Regions from separate parts of the Homo sapiens genome. Here all the other regions are linked to region 2. Evidence: promoter capture Hi-C in 16 types of primary human blood cells and fetal thymus (Javierre and others, 2016). All regions are on one chromosome and are shown on one strand. Each heading gives the region's core, a stretch centred on a gene start or on the middle of the fragment in contact. The rest is flanking DNA. Distances are from core to core; before and after follow the strand shown.

What was found. The method cuts DNA at HindIII sites, captures the fragments that hold promoters and counts their contacts. A CHiCAGO score of 5 or more calls a contact.
Region 1: a contact is called between a fragment that was not itself captured here and the fragment with the promoter of HACD1 in region 2, in 2 of 17 cell types (monocytes and M2 macrophages). The highest score is 5.8, in monocytes.
Region 3: a fragment that was not itself captured here is called in contact with the fragment with the promoter of HACD1 in region 2 in 4 of 17 cell types (megakaryocytes, M1 macrophages, erythroblasts and 1 more); the score reaches 6.8 in megakaryocytes.
Region 4: a contact is called between a fragment that was not itself captured here and the fragment with the promoter of HACD1 in region 2, in 5 of 17 cell types (M0 macrophages, M2 macrophages, megakaryocytes and 2 more). The highest score is 8.8, in M0 macrophages.
Region 5: a contact is called between a fragment that was not itself captured here and the fragment with the promoter of HACD1 in region 2, in 3 of 17 cell types (monocytes, M1 macrophages and M2 macrophages). The highest score is 5.4, in monocytes.
Region 6: a fragment that was not itself captured here is called in contact with the fragment with the promoter of HACD1 in region 2 in 1 of 17 cell types (monocytes); the score reaches 7.9 in monocytes.
Region 7: a contact is called between a fragment that was not itself captured here and the fragment with the promoter of HACD1 in region 2, in 5 of 17 cell types (megakaryocytes, M2 macrophages, erythroblasts and 2 more). The highest score is 10.1, in megakaryocytes.

The regions. Positions count from the first base shown.
Region 1 is chr10:18,267,043-18,269,801 of GRCh38, reverse strand. All of the region lies in intron 2 of CACNB2 (calcium voltage-gated channel auxiliary subunit beta 2), which reads right to left. Among named protein-coding and RNA genes, the nearest start is that of CACNB2-AS2, 6.9 kb to the right of the region's middle. The HindIII fragment of the contact is 5,111 bases long and covers 1-2,759 here.
Region 2 is chr10:17,615,890-17,618,666 of GRCh38, reverse strand. It overlaps HACD1 (3-hydroxyacyl-CoA dehydratase 1), which reads left to right and starts at 1,293. Exons shown (of 7, transcript NM_014241.4): 1 at 1,293-1,584. The coding sequence starts at 1,328. RefSeq lists a silencer at 1,093-1,752. The HindIII fragment of the contact is 16,531 bases long and covers 1-2,777 here.
Region 3 is chr10:16,855,379-16,858,102 of GRCh38, reverse strand. The region is part of intron 59 of CUBN (cubilin); the gene reads left to right. Among named protein-coding and RNA genes, the nearest start is that of RSU1, 39 kb to the right of the region's middle. RefSeq lists a silencer at 1,657-1,857. The HindIII fragment of the contact is 308 bases long and covers 1,268-1,575 here.
Region 4 is chr10:16,836,619-16,839,391 of GRCh38, reverse strand. All of the region lies in intron 62 of CUBN (cubilin), which reads left to right. Among named protein-coding and RNA genes, the nearest start is that of RSU1, 21 kb to the right of the region's middle. The HindIII fragment of the contact is 2,657 bases long and covers 143-2,773 here.
Region 5 is chr10:18,308,432-18,311,372 of GRCh38, reverse strand. The region is part of intron 2 of CACNB2 (calcium voltage-gated channel auxiliary subunit beta 2); the gene reads right to left. Among named protein-coding and RNA genes, the nearest start is that of CACNB2-AS2, 48 kb to the right of the region's middle. The HindIII fragment of the contact is 3,209 bases long and covers 1-2,941 here.
Region 6 is chr10:18,291,863-18,294,562 of GRCh38, reverse strand. All of the region lies in intron 2 of CACNB2 (calcium voltage-gated channel auxiliary subunit beta 2), which reads right to left. Among named protein-coding and RNA genes, the nearest start is that of CACNB2-AS2, 32 kb to the right of the region's middle. The HindIII fragment of the contact is 3,675 bases long and covers 1-2,700 here.
Region 7 is chr10:16,820,103-16,822,802 of GRCh38, reverse strand. LOC105376435 (a long non-coding RNA gene) reads right to left here. Exons shown (of 3, transcript XR_930708.3): 3 at 1,546-1,975. Among named protein-coding and RNA genes, the nearest start is that of RSU1, 4.0 kb to the right of the region's middle. The HindIII fragment of the contact is 1,317 bases long and covers 740-2,056 here.

The DNA of each region.
Region 1 (2,759 bases), core at 87-2,586, 650 kb before region 2:
GGAGTAGATATAAGTAGTGGTGGGAGAGTGGAAGGGAGGAGCAGAGAGAGGGAGGAACAGGACCGCAAGGATGGAGCTCAGTCTTGTATAACCATGTTTACAGTGCCTGGAGAGTTTCCAAATAGAGATGTCTGGAAACTTTTGAATATGGGTCTAAAACTTGGAAGAAAGATCTGGGCTGGGCATATTGATTTGGTAGCTATCAGCGTATGTGCAGAAAAGTTTAACTTCAATTTCTCTAGCCATTTTTTCTAGGTCTATTTTCTTTCAGATTTTCTTTCTTTTGAGCATTCCTCAAATGTTATGTTACCATTCACCAGCTTCTCTAGAGTTGAGGATGGACTCATGACCACCTGAAGGAATAGCAATATGGCAAGACATTGAATATATCATATGTAGATTAGGAGAAATAGGAAGAAAAAAATGGAGACAGGAGAATGTGGTATCACAGAAGTGAAGGGAAAAGTGTTTTAGACAGTGGGATGGGGCCATGTCTAACAGATGTGACCATGTGACCATCATGAGTTGTGTGTATCTTTAGTGACGGATGATAATTCAGTAGGCTAGCACAAATTAATGGAAATATCTCTTAAGATGATGTAAATTCACCTGCTTAGATCTCATATATTCCTTCTGACCTTTATTTATTTAGGAAATCTGCCAGCAACGAAGGTGTACCACAGTGCAAATCAACTCAGTAGGACTTGATCACCCTTCGTGAAACAGGTTCTTATCATGCAAAGCAAAGGACTTAACCCTAACCCACAGTTAAGCACCTCCACATATAACATCTCATGAAGGCCAGACCTAAAGGACATTTGGGAGCTCATAGCAGTGCTGCTATGAGACACTTCTTGATCAAGAAGAAGGCCAGACCTTGCCCTTCTTTATTCCAAAATACTTTGAGTACATATGACAATTTCTCAATCAGTAGACTCCTCCATTTATGAATTACTTTTGCTCAATGCATTTCAGGTTGAGTGTTTTCTAGTGAGGTAGGAGATAACATATTTAAATTTTATAAGCCTTTCTGGGAAAAGGTGAGGGATAAATTAATTTTAAGGCATTTGTCACATTAAATATGTATTATTAAATTAAAACATACTTATTGCAACATACTTAATGATGTAAAAGGTAAAATCCTGCCTGTTCCTCTATAATCTCATTTTCATGTGCTGTTCGTATACTGGTAAAGTCTTTTAGACCTCTACTCATGCAAACACCAATATAAATGCAAACACATGTAGAATAAATGCAATCATACTATATACATTGCTCTACGTCTTAATTTTTATATAACGTATTCTCAGAATATAAACCTCCTTCTACGTAAGTCTATACAAATCTAGCCTTTTCTCTTTAATGTCTATATGCTATTTCCTACTATAGGTGGTATACCATTTATTTATTCCTATTGTCAGATAATCCTGTTATGTCAAACACATTTTAATGTTCCGGAAACTCATATATTTCCACTGCTAGACTAGACTTTTCTGAGAACAGAGATGAAAGGTTCAATTCCTCTGTACATTTCTAACTTTCAGAATAGCCTTGGGCAAAGAGCAGGGACTCAGTAATTGCTTCATGAATGAACAGTTAGATGATGACCACTACATTCCTACATAATTCAATACGCTTTACAAGAGCTTTCTTTAAAACAATGAAGGCATCCTTCTAAAAGGGACTGCTCTTTTTCAGCACTGGAGAAGTTGTACTCAGATGCAGAGGGAGGTGGGAATAATCACAATTGAAACAGTTCACATTTACTTGAGTACTTACTCCGTGCCAAGTGTTTTCATAGTTTAACACATTTAATAATCATAGAAAACTTAAGAGTAAGACTCTTATTATTCTTGTTTCATAGAAAGGCAAGTTGAGGCACAGAGTGATGAAGTAACTTGCAGGAGCTTCTCTGGTGTGCAAAGGCTGGGCCGCTGCCCCGGAAGTGTCATTCACACATGAAACTGCCTCTCCAATGGGAAGAAAAAGTGATAGGTGTTAACTGGGGCTGTGCTGGGAGATGCTAAGGCAACCAGAGGGTCCCATGACCCTGAACATGCACCAACAAGCTCATTCTCTACACATGCCCAGAGGTTGCCAACCACCAACTTAATTTCATTTTCCCGCCTCTGTGCTTCTTAATGTTTATATGAAAGTTTACCTCATTTCCCTTTTTATTTTTTTGTTTTCTTTTTTGAGATGGAGTCTCACTCTGTCACCCAGGCTGGAGTGCAGTGGTGTGATCTCAGTTCACTGCAACCTCCACCTCCTGGGTTCAAGTGATTCTCATGCCTCAGCCTCCTGAGTAACTGGGATTACAGGTGCCCGCCACCACACCTGGCTAATTTCTGTATGTTTAGTAGAGATGGGGTTTCACCATGTTGGCCAGGCTGGTCTTGAAATCCCGACCTCAAGTGATCTGCCCACCTTGGCTTCCCAAAGTGTTGGGATTACAGGAGCGAGCCACCACACCCAGCCCCTTATTTAATTTTAATAAAATGTCATTATGTAGTGAGGTTTATAATTAAAGCCAAATTTAAAGTTCTGAAAAAAATTAAGGATTTTAACATGGCCAATATTAAAAGCTATTATTAATAAAAAAAAAATGCAGTTCCAAATATGAAGTTATCAATTTCTTACGAAAATACATATATGAACTTGACATTCAAAGATACAGAGGTCTTAAAAGCCAAATATCACCCTTAAAGGACATCTTAAGACATTATCTGGAAAAGCTCTGAGTGATTTAAGGAGACAGA
Region 2 (2,777 bases), core at 44-2,543:
CACTAAGGAAACTGAGGCATGGATAGGTTACGTTGTCCAAGTTCACACAGCTAATAAAATGGGAGGATTCAGGAATTTGGGGGTTGTATTTCAGTAGGTGCAAGGAATTTCAAAAGGTAATGTCATCAGTTAAGGCAGGAACCGGCCACACTTCTTTAGTGATTCTTCAGTTACTTTAGGCCATCTGGATGTATACGTGCAGGTCACAGGGGATATAATGGCTTAGCTTGGGCTCAGAGGCCTGACACTTGGTAAATAGACACACACACAGACACACAGACACACAGACACACACACACACACACACACACGCTCCGGTAAAATTCACACAAGTGAGGCCGGGTGCGGTGGCTCACGCCTGTAATCCCAGCACTTTGGGAAGCCAAGGCGGGTGGATCACTTGAGGCCAGGAGTTCGGGACCAGCCTGGCAAACGTGGTGAAACCGTCTCTACTAAAAATAACAAAAATTAGCCGGGCGTGGTGGTGCATGACTGTAGTTCCAGCTACTCGGGAGGCTGAGGCAGGAGAATCTCTTGAATCAGGGAGGCGGAGGTTGCAGTGAGCCGAGATCACAACACTGCACTCCAGACTGTAAAAAAAAAAAAAAATAAGAAATGAAAAAGGAAAAAAAAATCACTCAAGTGGGACGGTCTTCTCACTGTTGGAAGACCTGTTGGACTCGCTAGTAAACGGGAAACAGGGCGAAATAGGCGTTTCTTCCCCAGAAGCTCTTAAGAATGAATGAATGTTTGGCCCAGCGCTGTGGCTCAGGCTTGTAATCACAGAACTTTGGAAGGCAGAGGTGGGAAGATTGCTTGAGCTCACGAAATTGCAGTGAGCTATGTTCACGTCACTGCCCTCCAGCCTAGGAGACAGACTGAGACCGCATCTCTAAAAAGAAAAGAATGAGTGGCGGGAAGATCCCGCTCCCTGCCTGCGTATTGAGAAACTGCCTTACAAAAGGCCAGGCAGGGCAGAGCCACGCCAAGTTCAGGTGCGTTCCCTGTGTCCCCACTAAATGCACTCGCAGGGTGCGCATCGCCAGGGCGCAAGGCGTCTGGGCGTCTCTCTATGAAGAGGCGCCCGCAGCTAGCGAGGCGGGTGCACTTTCCTCGGGAGCGGAAACTACAGCGCCGCCTGGAAAGCGTGCCGGGGCTCGCGGGTCCTGGATCCCCAGTGCCAGGGCCAGGCGTTCTGGCCCCCGAGTGGCGCGCGCTCCCAAGGGGCGGGGCGGGGCGGGGGCGTGACGGGCGGTGGCCGGGGGCGTCCGCTCCTCCCCCTCGCGGTCGGTAGAGCTGGCTGCGCCGAGCCCCCTGCGCGCTGCACATGGGGCGCCTGACGGAAGCGGCGGCAGCGGGCAGCGGCTCTCGGGCTGCAGGCTGGGCAGGGTCCCCTCCCACGCTCCTGCCGCTGTCTCCCACGTCCCCCAGGTGCGCGGCCACCATGGCGTCCAGCGACGAGGACGGCACCAACGGCGGCGCCTCGGAGGCCGGCGAGGACCGGGAGGCTCCCGGCGAGCGGAGGCGCCTGGGGGTCTTGGCCACCGCCTGGCTCACCTTCTACGACATCGCCATGACCGCGGGGTACGCGCGCCGCGGGGCACCCTCGGGCCCTCCCCGCGCCGCGGTCCGCGGAGGTTCCGGGTTCAGGGGGCGCGGGCCGGGGTGTAAGGGGCGCGGGGGGTGCGGGCAGCGGCCGTGGGGGAAGGGAGCTGTCGCCGCGGCCACCGCCGGGGTTGAATGGAGCGGGCGGGGGGGCCGGGCCCTGCGCGCCTGGCATTGCCTAATACGGTGCACGGCGGGGCGCTGGCCGGAGGTTAAGTATAGAACCGGGCAGGAATGCGGTGCCGGCCCGCGGGGGAGGTGGCTGCTGCCCCGGCGCCGCTGCCTTCGCTGCTGTTGAAGGAGCGCCCAGCCCTGGCCACTCGATGGTCTCGGGAGCGCAGAGCTTCATGCTGCGATCGCTGGGCAGAGTTTTCGCCCCTGTTAATTTCACCGCGACTTTTTTTTTTTTTTTTTTTTAAAGCACAGCACGTCCTAGAGCTTGTCACTTGGGACGATTTTGAAATAACCACCCCACTTATCCCAGCGTGGAGCTCCTGCCCAGCATCTTTATGGCCTCAGGCTCCGTGGCTGATAAGCTGGACCTTGATTTTTGGCTTTGAGTATGACTTTGCAAGTTAAGGTTACACAATGACTGTCGCTCTTCGCAGAGCTCTCAAAGTGACTTTTGTGTCAACTGCTTCTCAAAACCTGTTGGGAAAATGCTTTTCCATTTCTCAATTGCACTGCCTTTTAAAAAAGTTATTTTCCCATTATCACTCGAAGTATTAACTTATGTAAACGCGAGGAAAAGTTTACTATTTTCTTTTTTTCTTTTTATTATTTATTTATTTATTTTGAGACGGAGTCTCGCTCGGTCTTGGCTGGAGTGCAGTGGCGGGATCTCGGCTCACTACAAGCTCCGCCTCCCGGGTTCATGCCTTTCTTCTGCCTCAGCCTCCCGAGTAGCTGGGACTACAGGCGCCCGCCACCACGCCTGGCTAATTTTTTTGTATTTTTAGTAGAGACGGGGTTTCACCATGTTAGCCAGGATGGTCTCCATCTCCTGACCTCATGATCCGCCCGCCTCGGCCTCCCAAAGTGCTGGGATTACAAGCGTGAGCCATCCCGCCCTGACAGTATTTTATTTTATTTTTTAGACGGAGACTCATTCTGTCGCCCAGGCTGGAGTGCATTGGCGCGATCTCCGCTCACTGCCAACCTCAGCCTCCGGA
Region 3 (2,724 bases), core at 172-2,671, 760 kb after region 2:
TTCATTAAGTATATACCTAAATATTTCATTTTTTTGTAATGATTATAAATGGTATTGTTTTTTAATTTTGGTCTCCACATGTTAATGGTTAGTATATTAAAATTTGATTGATTTTTGTGTATTGTTCCTTTATCCTGAGTTCTTGCTGAACTCATATGTTAGTTCTAAGAATGTTTTTCCATATTACTTGGGATTTTCTGCAGCTAATAGTTACTTGCAAAAGTGGAAATTTTATTTCTTCCTTTCCAGTCTCTCTATATATTTTTTCTTGCTTTATTCTGGCAAGAATTCTAATACTACGCTGAGTTAGAGGGGTGTGAAATCAATATCGTTGCCTTGTTCCTGATCTTAGGGAGAAAGCGTTTAGTATTTCACCATTAATTATGCTGTTAGCTGTAGGTTTTTGCAGATGGTTTTTATCAAGTCAAGAAATTTCTCCTCTATTCCTAGTTTGCCAAGAGTTTTTATCATGAATGTGTGTTGGATTTTGTCAAATCCTTTTTCAGCATCAACTGACATGATCATGTCATTTTGCTTAGTAAATTATTTTTTTAATTTCCAAGTTGGAAAGAATGATTCTCATAAAATGCCCTGGGGCTAATGATGTATGCATAGAGCATTTTCAGTGATATCTAAATAATGCAAGATAAATTAAAAGATAACGATAAAATTTTCCTTCTCCTAAGTTCTTTATACAAGTATTGCTCTTTTTCTATTAACTACAGCTACTGATTAGCTTGCTGAAATTACCTTTCTTTTAGTAAATTACCATTCTTTTAGTTTTATGATTCCTAAATATTACCAGACTAAATACACATTTTAATTTAGATTAAGCTGGGTTTCAAATTAGGATAACTAAAGTGAGTCAAATTAAGTGAAGCAACTAAAAACAAACAAAACAATAAAAAACCTCATTACAAAAACTACTAACTTTTTTCTTGTAAAACATAAATATTATACCTGAAGTATTGTACACATTGGAGATTAGGGAGTAAAATAATAAACACTGTTTACTTTTAGAGAAAAAGACAAAACAGGTTCGTCTGAAACCTAGTAGAATGTTTTTACATGAATACACTGCTTTGGAGCAATTGTGTATCTGCAGCTTTATAAATTACAGTAAGGCTGATTCCAAAAAAGGATAATGCATTTCTAGCCCTGCATCCCTGGGTGGTAGAAAGGAAGCTGTCTAGGTGTGCTCGAATTTCCCTAAGGCACCAGCTTTAAATGTCTTTGTATTCTGCTTCCTGTAGTTTCCAGTAAAGCTTCCTTCAGCTGCAGCCTAAAGCCACAGATGGCTTGCTGGAAACAGGAGAGGGCCTGAAGTCAAGCCAGTCTGTATCTGCTCGTACAGCACACTGTGCACCTTCTCAGTAGTGGTCAACCAGAGACAGGCAGAGATACTATCCAGACAACCTCAGGAAAATGTCAGCCGTATAGAATGTGAGCCACAAAAATGTCAATTCTCCAAATAATGATTTAAAAATGTATCTAACTCCACTGAAGCCTTCGAGATGTTTTATCCAAGAGAATGTAACTATTTTTTCCCTTATCAGATTGATCTTGGCTTAAGCTTCACTCTGAGGTTTAGTCATTGGAAGGTAATAATTCAGGATTCGGTTACCGATTTTTAATTAAGTAGATTTAGACCTGGATCTCACTCCTTATTATGGGGTTATATTTCCAATATTTCTTTAGCCAAAACATGTATTTTCTCTGAAGAAATGGCTCTTTTGTGTGAGAGAGATATTTCCAATTCAGGGAAGAAAGAGTGACGTTTGTTCTTGGACGCAGGGTGTGTCATCAGAGAGTGACTGACACACCTGATTGATGAGGCAGGTGCTGATGGATGAGAGCTGTCTAGGTGGCCCCAAAATGTGTAGTAATGAGGAAATGATGGATTGGTGATGCTAAACATATCAAGGTTAAGATGGCTTATACATTAAAAAATGCAATTTCAAAATATCAGTATGGTAAATATATATGACTTTCTGATGCGTGGGACTCTATTGCATAGTCACAGAGGTCGCCCTTGTTTATATTCCCCCACCATTGAAACACAGAAAGAGCAATGTGGCAATAGCTCCTTTTGGGAAAGAACCCTTCTTTTGTTAATATTGATCATTACGTTTTCTCAAAGACATATACACTTACATTTCATTTTGCATGGAGCAGTTTTGCTATATTTAAGCACTAAAGAGGGGGAATTAGAGCAATTGCTATTCCCTGCACTACACAAATAACTGTTCACTCATGTAATATGATATTCACTTCAAATATTTGATTATTTTGGCCAGGATTATCTCATGATATTTTTCTCCATGTTCTTTATTCTGTGTGTATATTTTGTGAATTGAACAATGAGCTCTATTATAGTTTGATAGCTCAAACAAGCTATTAATATTAGTTGTGTGTATTAGTCTGCTATTACCATGACAGTGCTACTTAACAAACCATCCAAAATTCAGTGTCTTATAATGAAAGCATTTGTTTTTATCACTTATGGGTCCACGGACTAGCTTGCCTGCCTCCGTTCCAAGCTGCGGGTTGGCTGTAGTTGGCTGTAAAGTTGAGTCTGGGTTCAAGTCTGCTCCACATGAATCCACTTTTTCTTTGAACCAGCAGTTACTCAGCACATGATATCTTAGTGGATCACAGGAGCACAAAGTCCTAGACAACAATAAAAACAAGAACAAAACGTAAGCACGTTTAAGGCCTCTGGCT
Region 4 (2,773 bases), core at 222-2,721, 780 kb after region 2:
TGATGGAGTGGTTTGTTTCATGATGAAATAATTTTCTAAGTTACTTCCAGCTTAATGTGTTTTTCATCCATACACAAAGCCCTCCAATCAGGTGTGTCGAGAAACTTGAACTTGGTCCTGCAGGTCCAGAGCTCTCAAAGCTTCATGTGCCTAAGAATGCATTAAGATGCATCTTAAAAGTGCATCCTCCCTGGCCCACCCTCAGAGACCGAATCCCCCATATAACACCCATTTATCTGAATTTTTGACAAACACCTCTGGTGTTTTGGTGCCAGTACCAGAACTCCATGGACCATGCTTGGAGAAATACCTCTAGTTAGTGGGATTTATGTATAGGTTGAATTGAAAGGGTCAGTACAGAACACAAGAGAATCAGTGAAGAGGCTGTTTGGCACTAGTCTGATAGGTTTATATTCATGGTAATATAAGAGAGATAAAAAGAAAAGGGCTGGGTGTGGTGGCTCATGCTTATAATCCCAGCACTTTGGGAGGCCAAGGCTGGTGGATTACCTGAGGTCAGGAGTTCAAGATCAGCCTGGCCAGTGTGGTGAAACCCTGCCTCTACTGAAAATACAAAAAATTAGCTGGGTGCAGTGGTGTGCGCTTGTAATCCCAGCTACTCAGGAGGCTGAGGTAGGAGAATCGCTTGAACCTGGGAAGCAGAGGTTGCAGTGAGCCAAGATCGCGCCACTGCACTCCAGCCTGGGTGACAGAGTGAGACTTCGTCTCAACAACAACAACAACAAAATCCATTTTGAGCTTTAAAAAAGGCTGAGTCTGAATTTCCTCTGGAATAAGATGTTGAGGAGACAGTTGGACACAAAGTGGGTTGTTGACCAAAGGCCCAAAGATTTTTGTGCATCATCATTATCATGATAGGTAATTGAAAAATGAGAAGAATGAGATTATCTGGGGAAAATATGCAAAGGGATTGGCCACGAACTGAGGATGGATACCAGGAGAACATCTGAGAATACCTGGATTGTCTTTCTGCAGTTTGGGGAGCAACTAACCCTCCCCAGTTCATTCCAGTAAAATGTCATGGTCAAAGCCCCATATGCTGGACTAGTAGAGTATCTGTTGTCTTCTGAGTTTTCAGGGTCCCCTTCATTATAAATCTGGGGTCCCCTGCTTCTCATGTGGTCTTGCTGGGGAAAGAAAAGTCCAGGTTGTGTGACTCCAGAGTGGAGAGGCGTGAGATGTGCTGGCAGCTGAATAGACCCTGGACTTGCTGAGTTTGGTGCAAAGCATATATGCTGAGATGAGCTCCCAAGGTGGACAAGATGCTAGATTATCGTCATTCCATTGGTAATGGTTTTCAGGACAAAATCTCTATTACCCATTGGTACCCTAGAGGACTTACAGCCAAGTGGAACAGGCCCTTTGGGTGAAAGCTCTCTCAATTTTCCCTGGCTTCACGAAGCTAAGACAATGGGGATCAGGGTGGACCACTCAGCGGGGCACAGAATGGCACTTTCAGGGCACGAGACACCGTCTGAAACATAACAGCAGCTGGAGCAGCCTCGAGTAAGACCCAGTGTTTGTCATGACTGAATAATGTTTTCCACTGAATGAATACAGGAAACAATCAAGGGTTTCGGACTGGGTAGGTAGGGAGGAAAGACAAACATTGACGGATGAGCTGGGAGAAACTGGGATTCTCGGGGTATCCAAGAGTAGACAGAGCAGCCCTAATTGGCAGATCATGAAGGAATGATGTGTAGGGTGGTTACGGAGGATGTTCAGTGGTTAGCTGGCACTGGAGATGAACAGAGATGCAGAGATAGAAGGCCCTAAGGTTAAGAAATATGAAGTTGAGGGTGTTTAATGGCTTGTCTATAAAAACACAGAAACCTCTAAAGGGTTCAGAAAGGAAATCAGGGGCAGGAGATGACTATGAGCTGAGACACCTCAAGTCTTTCATAAATGAAGGGAAGTAACTGGGAGAAAAGTAAATGAGAGTGACGATAATGGTAAGAATATCTTTGGCCAGATGTAGAGACCGTCGAAGGAGAACCAGCTTTGAGACGAGGATGGAAGCTGCAGTGAGGAATGTGGAGCCTCCCTCCCTTCCCCCGAGGCTGGCCCCCCACCCTTCCCACTCAATGAACTGTGGAGCATGGGTAAAGAACAGCCTCTACCAGGAGGCTGCTGGAGAACCAGGTTTTGCTAAGGCCACAAAGTGGAAAGGTGGGGGATGTATACCGAGAATGACTGACAGTGCAGTTAAAGTTCACAGGATACAGCAAAGTTAGACAAGGACCAAGAGCAGGAGACAGTGGGGAAGAGGGGTGGAAGCCCCGAGCAGTTACAGGAGTTTTGCAAGCAGAGACGGGTGGGGTGTTTCAGTAGGTTCCTAAGAACTGCAGATATTAGAGACATTCCTGTGACAGGGAGGCTGCAAATACCCTGACTTTGGTACAACTTGTTTTTACCCAAGAACTGATGGGCATTCGACTGCATTTACTCCAGGCTTTTGAGAGGTGATGAGGGCTGCCCTAGTGTTACAAAGGGGAACCGGTACCTCATGACAGGCCCCGGCTGGCTTGGGGGATGTACAGTGGAACCAAAGGCTCTGATTAGATTTGCTAAGGGGTAGCAAGGGCTGGATCAGGGTGATGGTGGTTGTTAGTCCCATGGAGCTCAGGACAATGGCAAAAGCCCCAGGAGGAGAGATCCAGTGAGCTCTCAAACAGCCTAGATCCTCAGAGCAATGGCACAGGCCTCAGCTAGGAAGTTGCATAAAAGGCGAGGGATCTTATTTTCAGCAGGG
Region 5 (2,941 bases), core at 229-2,728, 690 kb before region 2:
TATCTACATGGAGCCGCAGCTGCCCTCTCATTTAGAGATGAGAAGACTACTAAGAAAACAAGACTAAAAGATTCCAGAGGAACCCATGCCACCTGCCTATAATGAACCAAAGTAGTCAATCATTCACAAATATGGATGGACAAATAAGTAAAAGCAGATATTTGGAAAATAAAAAGAAAGAAGAGCCTAAAAGGTCCAAAATAAGCAGATAAACCAATTTCAGGGAAACAAAAATACAAGGAACTTAAGCAAACTTAAACAAGCAGAAAATCCAAATTGGTATCTTCAGAGAGAGTCAAGAGATTATTGCATTTATAAAACAAGAACAAAAAGCTATGAAAAAGTACTGATGAGGCAATGAAATGTCCTTGGAAATTAAAATATACTTGCCAGCATAAAAAAATTCAATGGTCAGCATAATTAATAAAATGAATGTATTTGAAGACTAAAGTGGAGGTTTGTAAACCAAAACAGAAAATGAAAGAAAACAGTCCGGGCACAGTGGCTCAGGTCTGTAATACCAGCACTTTGGGAGGACAAGGTGGGTGGATGACTTGAGGTCAGGAGTTCGAGACCACCCTGGCCAATGTGGTGAAACCCCATCTATACTAAAAATACAAAAAAAATTAGCCAGGCATGGTGGCGCATGCCTGTAATCCCAGCTACTAGGGAGGCTGAGGCAGGAGAATTGCTCGAACCCAGTGGGTGGGTTTCTTTTCTTTATAATTTTCTTTTTTTTTTTACTTTTTTTTTTTTTTTTTTTTTTTGAGATGGAGTTTTGCTATTATTGCCCAGGCTGGAGTGCAATGGCATGATCTTGGCTCACCACAAACTCCGCCTCCTGGGTTCAACTGATTCTCCTGCCTCAGCCTCCTGAGTAGCTGGGATTACAGGCATCCACCACCACGCCCAGCTAATTTTGTATTTTTAGTGGAGATGGGGTTTCTCCATGTTGGTCAGGCTGGTCTCGAACTCCCAACCTCAGGTGACCCGCCCACCTCAGCCTCCCAAAGTGTTGGGATTACGGGCGTGAGCCACCACGCCCAGCCTAAAAAATCACTTTTTTAAATTGTATGCTTTCCTTAGTTTATCAACACAGTAAACCTAATTATTACCATCAAAGTAGACTTAATTTTAGAGAGGATAAAAGATGTTAAGAACTACGAAACCCAATCTTAATTGACAAATTTTAGAATTTCAAAGAATGAGTTTTAAAACATTGCTGAAAATACAACAGAAAAATAAACCTGTAGCACGCAAGTTGAAAAAAAAAATCTATTTGAGACCAAATTAAGAAACTGTAACTGAGTATTTACACACAGCTTAGAAACAGCAGCACTGCCATCATTTTTAGTTGGATATATAAATTAAGTCCTCTGATGATATTTCTTCAAATAACTGGTATCAGAAATAACTTTATTCATTTCTAAATGGCAAAATAATGTTAATTTTAAAATTAGTTTTCTATCTCCATTCTAATAATCTTATCAATAGTCTTTTTATTATGTGCAGGTTTGAAAACACACACCTTCCTCATTCTCAGGTGACTGTTTATCCGGACATCTATTCTGAAACAAACAGAAATACACCAGATCAAATAAAACCCACATTTTCTGGGCTGGGCGAGGTGGCTCACACCTGTAATCCCAGCACTTTGGGAGGCTGAGGCGGGTGGATCATAAGGTCAGGAGATTTGAGACCAGCCTGGCCAACATGGTGAAACGCTGTCTCTACTAAAAATACAAAAATTAGCTGGGCATGGTGGCGCGGGACTGTAATCCCAGCTACTTGGGAGGCTGAGTCAGGAGAATCGCTTGAACCCGGGAGGCAGAGGTTGCAGTGAGCCGAGATCGCACCATTGCACTCCAGCCTGGCGACAGAGCGAGGCTCCACTAAACTAAAAAAAGGAAAAAAGAAAAATCCACATTTTCTGAAGAGTCTACCCTGTTGAAGACCTGAACTGCACCATGCAGCCCCGACCCAACCACCTGTGTTCTCATGTGATGTGTACCTCTACTTCCCAGTCAAGCTCCGGCTTCAGTGTAAAAATTCTTGGCAGTCTGGTGCTTATGTAACTGTTGGAGACATTTTTGACTCTATTGGTCTCCCTCTCTGTTTCTGAATTGTCCCCTCTTTCTCCCGTCATAAATACAAGAGTCACTTTTCCTGCTACCTTTAAACATATAAAAAATAAGATAACATATTTAGTCTGAAAATAACCATTCAATATTTTAAAATTTCAGAAACATATCAAATGACAGCTTCACTTTTACTTCATTGTTGACAATATTCATTTTAGTGAAAAAATTGGTAACGACGAGGGGAGAAGGACAGCATCACTTCCGAGGAATAAGTTTTTTTTTTCTATTTTAAGGGCAATTGTGCATTGCTTCCAAACCCAAATGAGAATCAGTGGAAGTTAGTATTCAAATATGACTGCTTTAAAATTGCATTTTTTGCAAGTGCTTCATTTTCTGGCTGACATCAGCAAATACACATCAGTGAGCTGATGACATTTGATACAAAAGGGACAACTTGTTCACCCAAAAAAGTTGTCAAGTCATACCCTTGGCTCATTTTGCCAAGAGCCAAAGGTGTCAGGCATACCGTATGCCTTCTGTAACGTTGCTGGCTCCCATACTTGGCACACTTGGGGTTGTTTTTGGCAGGCTGATGCGTATCCAACCTACAATTCATTCTGACCCCAAGAGCCAGATCTCATGAAAGTGACCTTGTGGGGAAGCTGAGTGGTAACCCAAGAAATCACTGTGAGTGCTTTTACAGCATTGCCATTTTAAAATATACTTGCCATTTTACAATGATCTTTCAAGAAATGTGAAGAATAGAAAATTTTGCTGTAGGACACTACAATGGGAACACAGACACCAGGGTCCCCTGGAGAGCGGAGGGCGGGAGGAGAGTGAGGATTGAAAAATCGCCT
Region 6 (2,700 bases), core at 141-2,640, 680 kb before region 2:
GTTCTATTTCATTCACCATCTTATGTACTACTTAGGTATTTGCTTTTTGTCTTTCTCCCTTCCCTAGAATGTAAGCTCTATGATGTTGGAGATTCTCAAGGATCTTTTTCACTGCGTCCTCGGTACCTAGAGGATCATAGAAGAGGCACTCTGTGAACATTTGTTGAATGAATGTCGAACCCTTGTACCAGGATGATCTGATAAGCCTCAGCACATCTCAGAGAACATGCTGGTTGCTATCATCTTTTCCATTGCACAGAGAGCTACACTGTCAAGCAGTTTAACCAGTTGCCTAGATACCACTCTGACCAGGCATGAACAGGAGAAAGAAGGTGGTGGTCCACTCTGGGGCTTGCAGTGTTCCACAAGATGTGTTCATGTTTATCACATGGAGTGAAGCAGGTCTCGGAAACGTGCCCGAGGGGCCAGGGAGGAAGAGTTACATGATCTTCTGTCACCACTGGGAAGTTTACTATGTGGTTAAAGAGACAAGGGGAATCATTTTATTCTCCTCCTGAACTCAAGTCTAAATAAATATCCAAATGGAAACTGGCCAGTGGCAAAAGCAGGAAGACCAGATACATTTCACTTCACATAGCCAAAAAATGCAGGGAAACGTCATTCAATACCTAAAAAACCGTGACTGGTGAAAACTGAAGCAATGATCAACATTTCAAAGTCTCTCTCTCTATGCCCTAAAGTCAAACTAAGGAATTTTATCATAGTCATTAACATGAATGATTGGACCACTGCATAATCAGCACACACCAACCAAATGACTGTATTCTCTGTAATATGGCAGTCATTAAACTCATAACTCATCTTTGGACAAACCTGGTACAGAGGCATTTTGTAATAGTGTGGGATACACCGGGGAATTTTTAACCTGAGGAAATGAAACTATGCTGACTCTCTTGAAATAAGTGCTCCTAAATTTTTAGCCAACAACTTGAACTTTTCAAAAAATATTAGCATAATTGAGTATGAAGTAAACCCAACCCAAGGGTAGAGTCTGAGCTTAATGTTTCAAGTTTTGCTTTCATGGTAGAAACATGCCATTAGGCAGGCACTAGTTTGACAGAATTAATCTTTTAGGAGTATTAATCAGATGAAGGAGGGGATGTACTTCTGAAACGACTCTTTTCTTTAATGTTTATGTGCTGGCAGAAAGTAGCAAACTCACATTTGGACATCAGAACTAGCCCTTGGACCCATCCGTATAAGGAGGGAAAGAAACTCACCAGTTAGGCCAAAGGTTCCTGAATCATATCTCTTGGTTTTACTAAGAGGAAGTGAAGAATCAACGATAACAATAATATGAAGACAAAAAGTATCCATTATTAAAAGCGAATTAACTTCAAAAATTTTGTCAATTTTTCTGAAATAATTTTGAGAGTTGTGTTTCAAACTAAGGTACACCTCTTTTAATTAAGTACTCTTAAAGAATAACTGTCTATAACAGAAAAAAGCCACAATAACCATTTTTAGACAAATATGGTGCTATTTCATATAAAGTAAGAATAACCTAATTGGTGAATTTCAAATTAAGGTAGTAAACGTTATCTCTTGACCAAAAAGATGGAATTATTTATTTTTCCTACATTATTGCCAAAAAACCATAATGATGATCTAATAATAAATTCTATGATGAGTATGGTCGAGGTTGCATGGGCTGGTGGTAAAAAATTTGGTGTTTAGACACACAACTTTCTGTACAGAATAGAAAGGAATCCATTTGCCTGTTAATTTTAATGTATCAAGCTCACTTAACATGATAGCAGGAAACTAAAGCCCTTATTTTTTAAGAGTTTACAGATTGTTCTCGTTATTCTGAGCTCAATCTGGTAGGTTTTGTGTTTTTGGTAGGAAACTACCTTAAATCTATATATATAATTTTATTTTATTTTGAGATGGAGTCTCACTCTGTCTCCCAGGCTGGAGTGCAGTGGCCCGATCTCAGCTCACTGCAACCTCCACCTCCTGGGTTCAAGCGATTCTTCTGCCTCAGCCTCCTGAGTAGCTGGAACTATAGGCACTCGCCACCAGGCCTAGCTAATTTTGGTATTTTTAGTAGGGACGGGGTTTTACCATATTGGCCAGGCTGGTCTCGAACTCTTGACCTCGTGATCTGCCCGCCTCGGCCTCCTAAAGTACTGGGATTACAGGCGTGAGCCACTGCACCCAGCCACCTTGAAACAATATTAAGGAGTCAAATTTGATTAGGATTAACATGCCGTTGTTATTACTGAAATGTTAAACTTTATACATGTCTATCATTGATTGAGGGCAATTACTTAGATACGTAAAATTAAGAAACAGCTATGCTATCTTGTTTCCAAGGAAAAAAGGAACACACCAACAATATCACTGAATAATGAAAATCACATATTCTACCCTTAACATTTGACTTACCCCAAAAAAGAAATCTAGGCAATCTTTACTCAACACAAACAGTTTTGGAGTTGAAAACATGTTAAAATCATAACCTTGACTTTGTATGAATGCACTTTAAATTCTGTGTGTGTATGCAAAGGTGAAGCAAACCTAAAAACCTAAAAATGGCAAAACAAACTGAGTGTTTACATGTCTTATAGTTCATATTTTAGCAAGCACTCCACCGTGACTTTGCCAAAGGATTTCTAACACTTACAAAGATATTTATATGCTTTTCTAAGACAAATGCTTTCTGAAGGTTTTCCA
Region 7 (2,700 bases), core at 149-2,648, 800 kb after region 2:
AATATCTCTAGCAAGTGGATGCCTCACAGCCTGCTTGAATTCCTCTCCTGAAAAAGCTTTTTCTTTCTCTGCCATATGGCCAGGCTGTAAATTTTCCAAATTTTTACACTCTGCTTTCCTTTTTAATATAAGTTCCAATTCGAAGTCATTTCTTTGCTCCCACATCTGAGCACATGCTATTAGAAGCAGCCAGCCCAAATCTTGAACACTTTGCTGCTTAGAAATTTTTTCCACCAGATACCCCAGGTTGCCACTCTTTAGTTCAAACTTCCACAGATCCCTAGGGCATGGACAGAATGCAGCCAAGTTCTTTGCTAAGGCATAATATGTGTCACCTTTGCTCCAGTTCCCACTAAGTTCCTCATTACCATCGAAGACCTTGGCAGCCTGGACTTCATTATCCATATCACTATCAGAATTTTAGTTGCAACTTTTAAACAGTCTCTAAGAAGTTCCAAATTTTCCCTCATCTTTATGTCTTCTGAGCCTTCCAAACTCTTCCAACCTCTACCCATTATCTTGTTCCAAAGTCAGTTCCACATTTTCAGGTATCTTTATAACAAAACCCCACTCCTGGTACCAATTTTCTGTAATAGATCATTCTTGCATTGCTATAAAGAAATACCCGAGACTGGGTAACTTATAAAGAAAAGAGGTTTAATCTGCTCACAGCTCTGCAGGCTTTATAGGAAACATGGTGCTGACATCTGCTTGGCTTCTGGGGCAGCCTCAGGAAGCTTATAATCATGGAGGAAGGCGAAGGGGAAACAGGCATGTCACACGGTGAAAGCAGGAGCAAGACAGCGAGAGTATGGGACAGGTGCCACACACTTTTAAGTGGCCAGCTCTCATGTGAACTCAGAGCAAGAGCTCACTTATCACCAAGGGTATGGCCCAAGCCATTCATGAGGGATCTACCCCCACGATCTAAACACCTCCCACCAGGCCGATCTCCAACACTGGCTTTTATAACTCAACATGAGATTTGAGCAGGGACAAATATCCAAACTCTATTATGTATTTACGCTCAGGAGTACAAAGTTTCCATAAGCACCACCATTGCCTATTCCTTAACACAATATGTTAAGTTATAAATAAACAATATGGTTTGCCACTTAACAAGAAGTAGAAAGTTCAGTAGCACATCCTTATCTCCAATGCTGCCAGACATGTAACTAAGTGAGGTAGTTATTAGCTTCCTTTTCATAAGAAAATTCAATGCTTTTATAAAGTTTTTCAGTGCCTCTAGAAAAGCGGAAGCCTTTACAAAGGAGATTTGCTTTATGTTAATTATGCAAAATCAAGGGTTATTAACAAAAGACCATGTGAATGAGAGAAGCTGAGGAATGTAACTTCATCTTACTCTAATACTCAAATGGCAGATAATTATTTCTGGACAGAGTATGGAGCCACAGAAATAAAATACTCTAACCTTGAAAATTCAGCTACTCAGGAGGCTGAGGCTGGACAATCACTTGAACCTAGGAGGCGGAGGTTTCAGTGAGCCAACATCGCGCCACTTCACTCCAGTGTGGGTTACAGAATGAGACTCCATCTCAAAAAAACAAACAACAACAACAACAATTCCTGCTCCCTTTTTGTATTATGGATAGACATATCAACTTTATGGGTGACAATTACATTGGAAAGGACAGTGAATGCGATAAGTAACACCATCAAATCCAAAAGGTCTTGATAAGCTACAACAATGGGCCAATTGTAACAGACGAAATGTGACAGATATAAGATCTTCCTCTTTTATCAAAAAATGAATTGCAAAAGTACAGAATACAGGGAAAGTTTAACAATAACATGAAATGACATAGTACTTTTCTGAAAGAAAGATTAACATGATGTCACTGTCAAAAAAATGATGCTTAGAGCATGGACTGCATCATTAGAGTAACGGTATCATTTCCACTCAGAAGGGCATGCTTTTCTAGGAGGCATATTGGAATATCTGGGAAGTGTGTACCTGAAATTGAGGAAAGCATAGTCAATATTATTATGTAATTTTAAAATTAAAAATACAGAAAAAAAGAGACAAAATGAAGCTTTACAAAATCTTCCAGGCTGGGCATCTAGGAAATAAGCAGTGATTTTTTAGTGGGTTAGGGATGGTCAGGCTTGGGAGCATGACATTTTCGTGTATAGCCAAGGGAAGTAGTTATTGAGTAATTCAGTTTTTGAGTAATTCAGCTGGAAGAAGGAGAAAAGAGTCAACTGTACTCTCATTCGTAAGACCCACCGTATATCCTCTGGTTCTGCTTTACATTTAATTCACTTGTTTCCAAATGTTTATTGAGCATCAGCTATGTGATACGTACTCAGCGCACTGAGGATAAAGCAGAGAACAAGACAGCCATACAAGACTATCAGCTGATGTCTCCCAGCTTCACAAAGCACACTTCCCAGCTCCATCTTGCTTGATTTCCTGAGCCAGTCCTGAGGCAAAAACCTTAATATTCTTATCTGGTGAAACATACATTGAGCCAACTTCCCAGATCTAGTGGCCAAGGGATAAGTTTCCTGATTCCAAATTGTGTCACCATGAAGTTTCACTGCTAGCAATCAGGACCCTGGACAGGCTAACCATCATCCTAGCAAATTAATCAAACCTGAGAAGGGGGTGTGGGAACCCTGATTTATAGCTGGTCAGTCAGAAGTGTAGGTGACAGTCAACCTAAAGTCTTGTGGAAA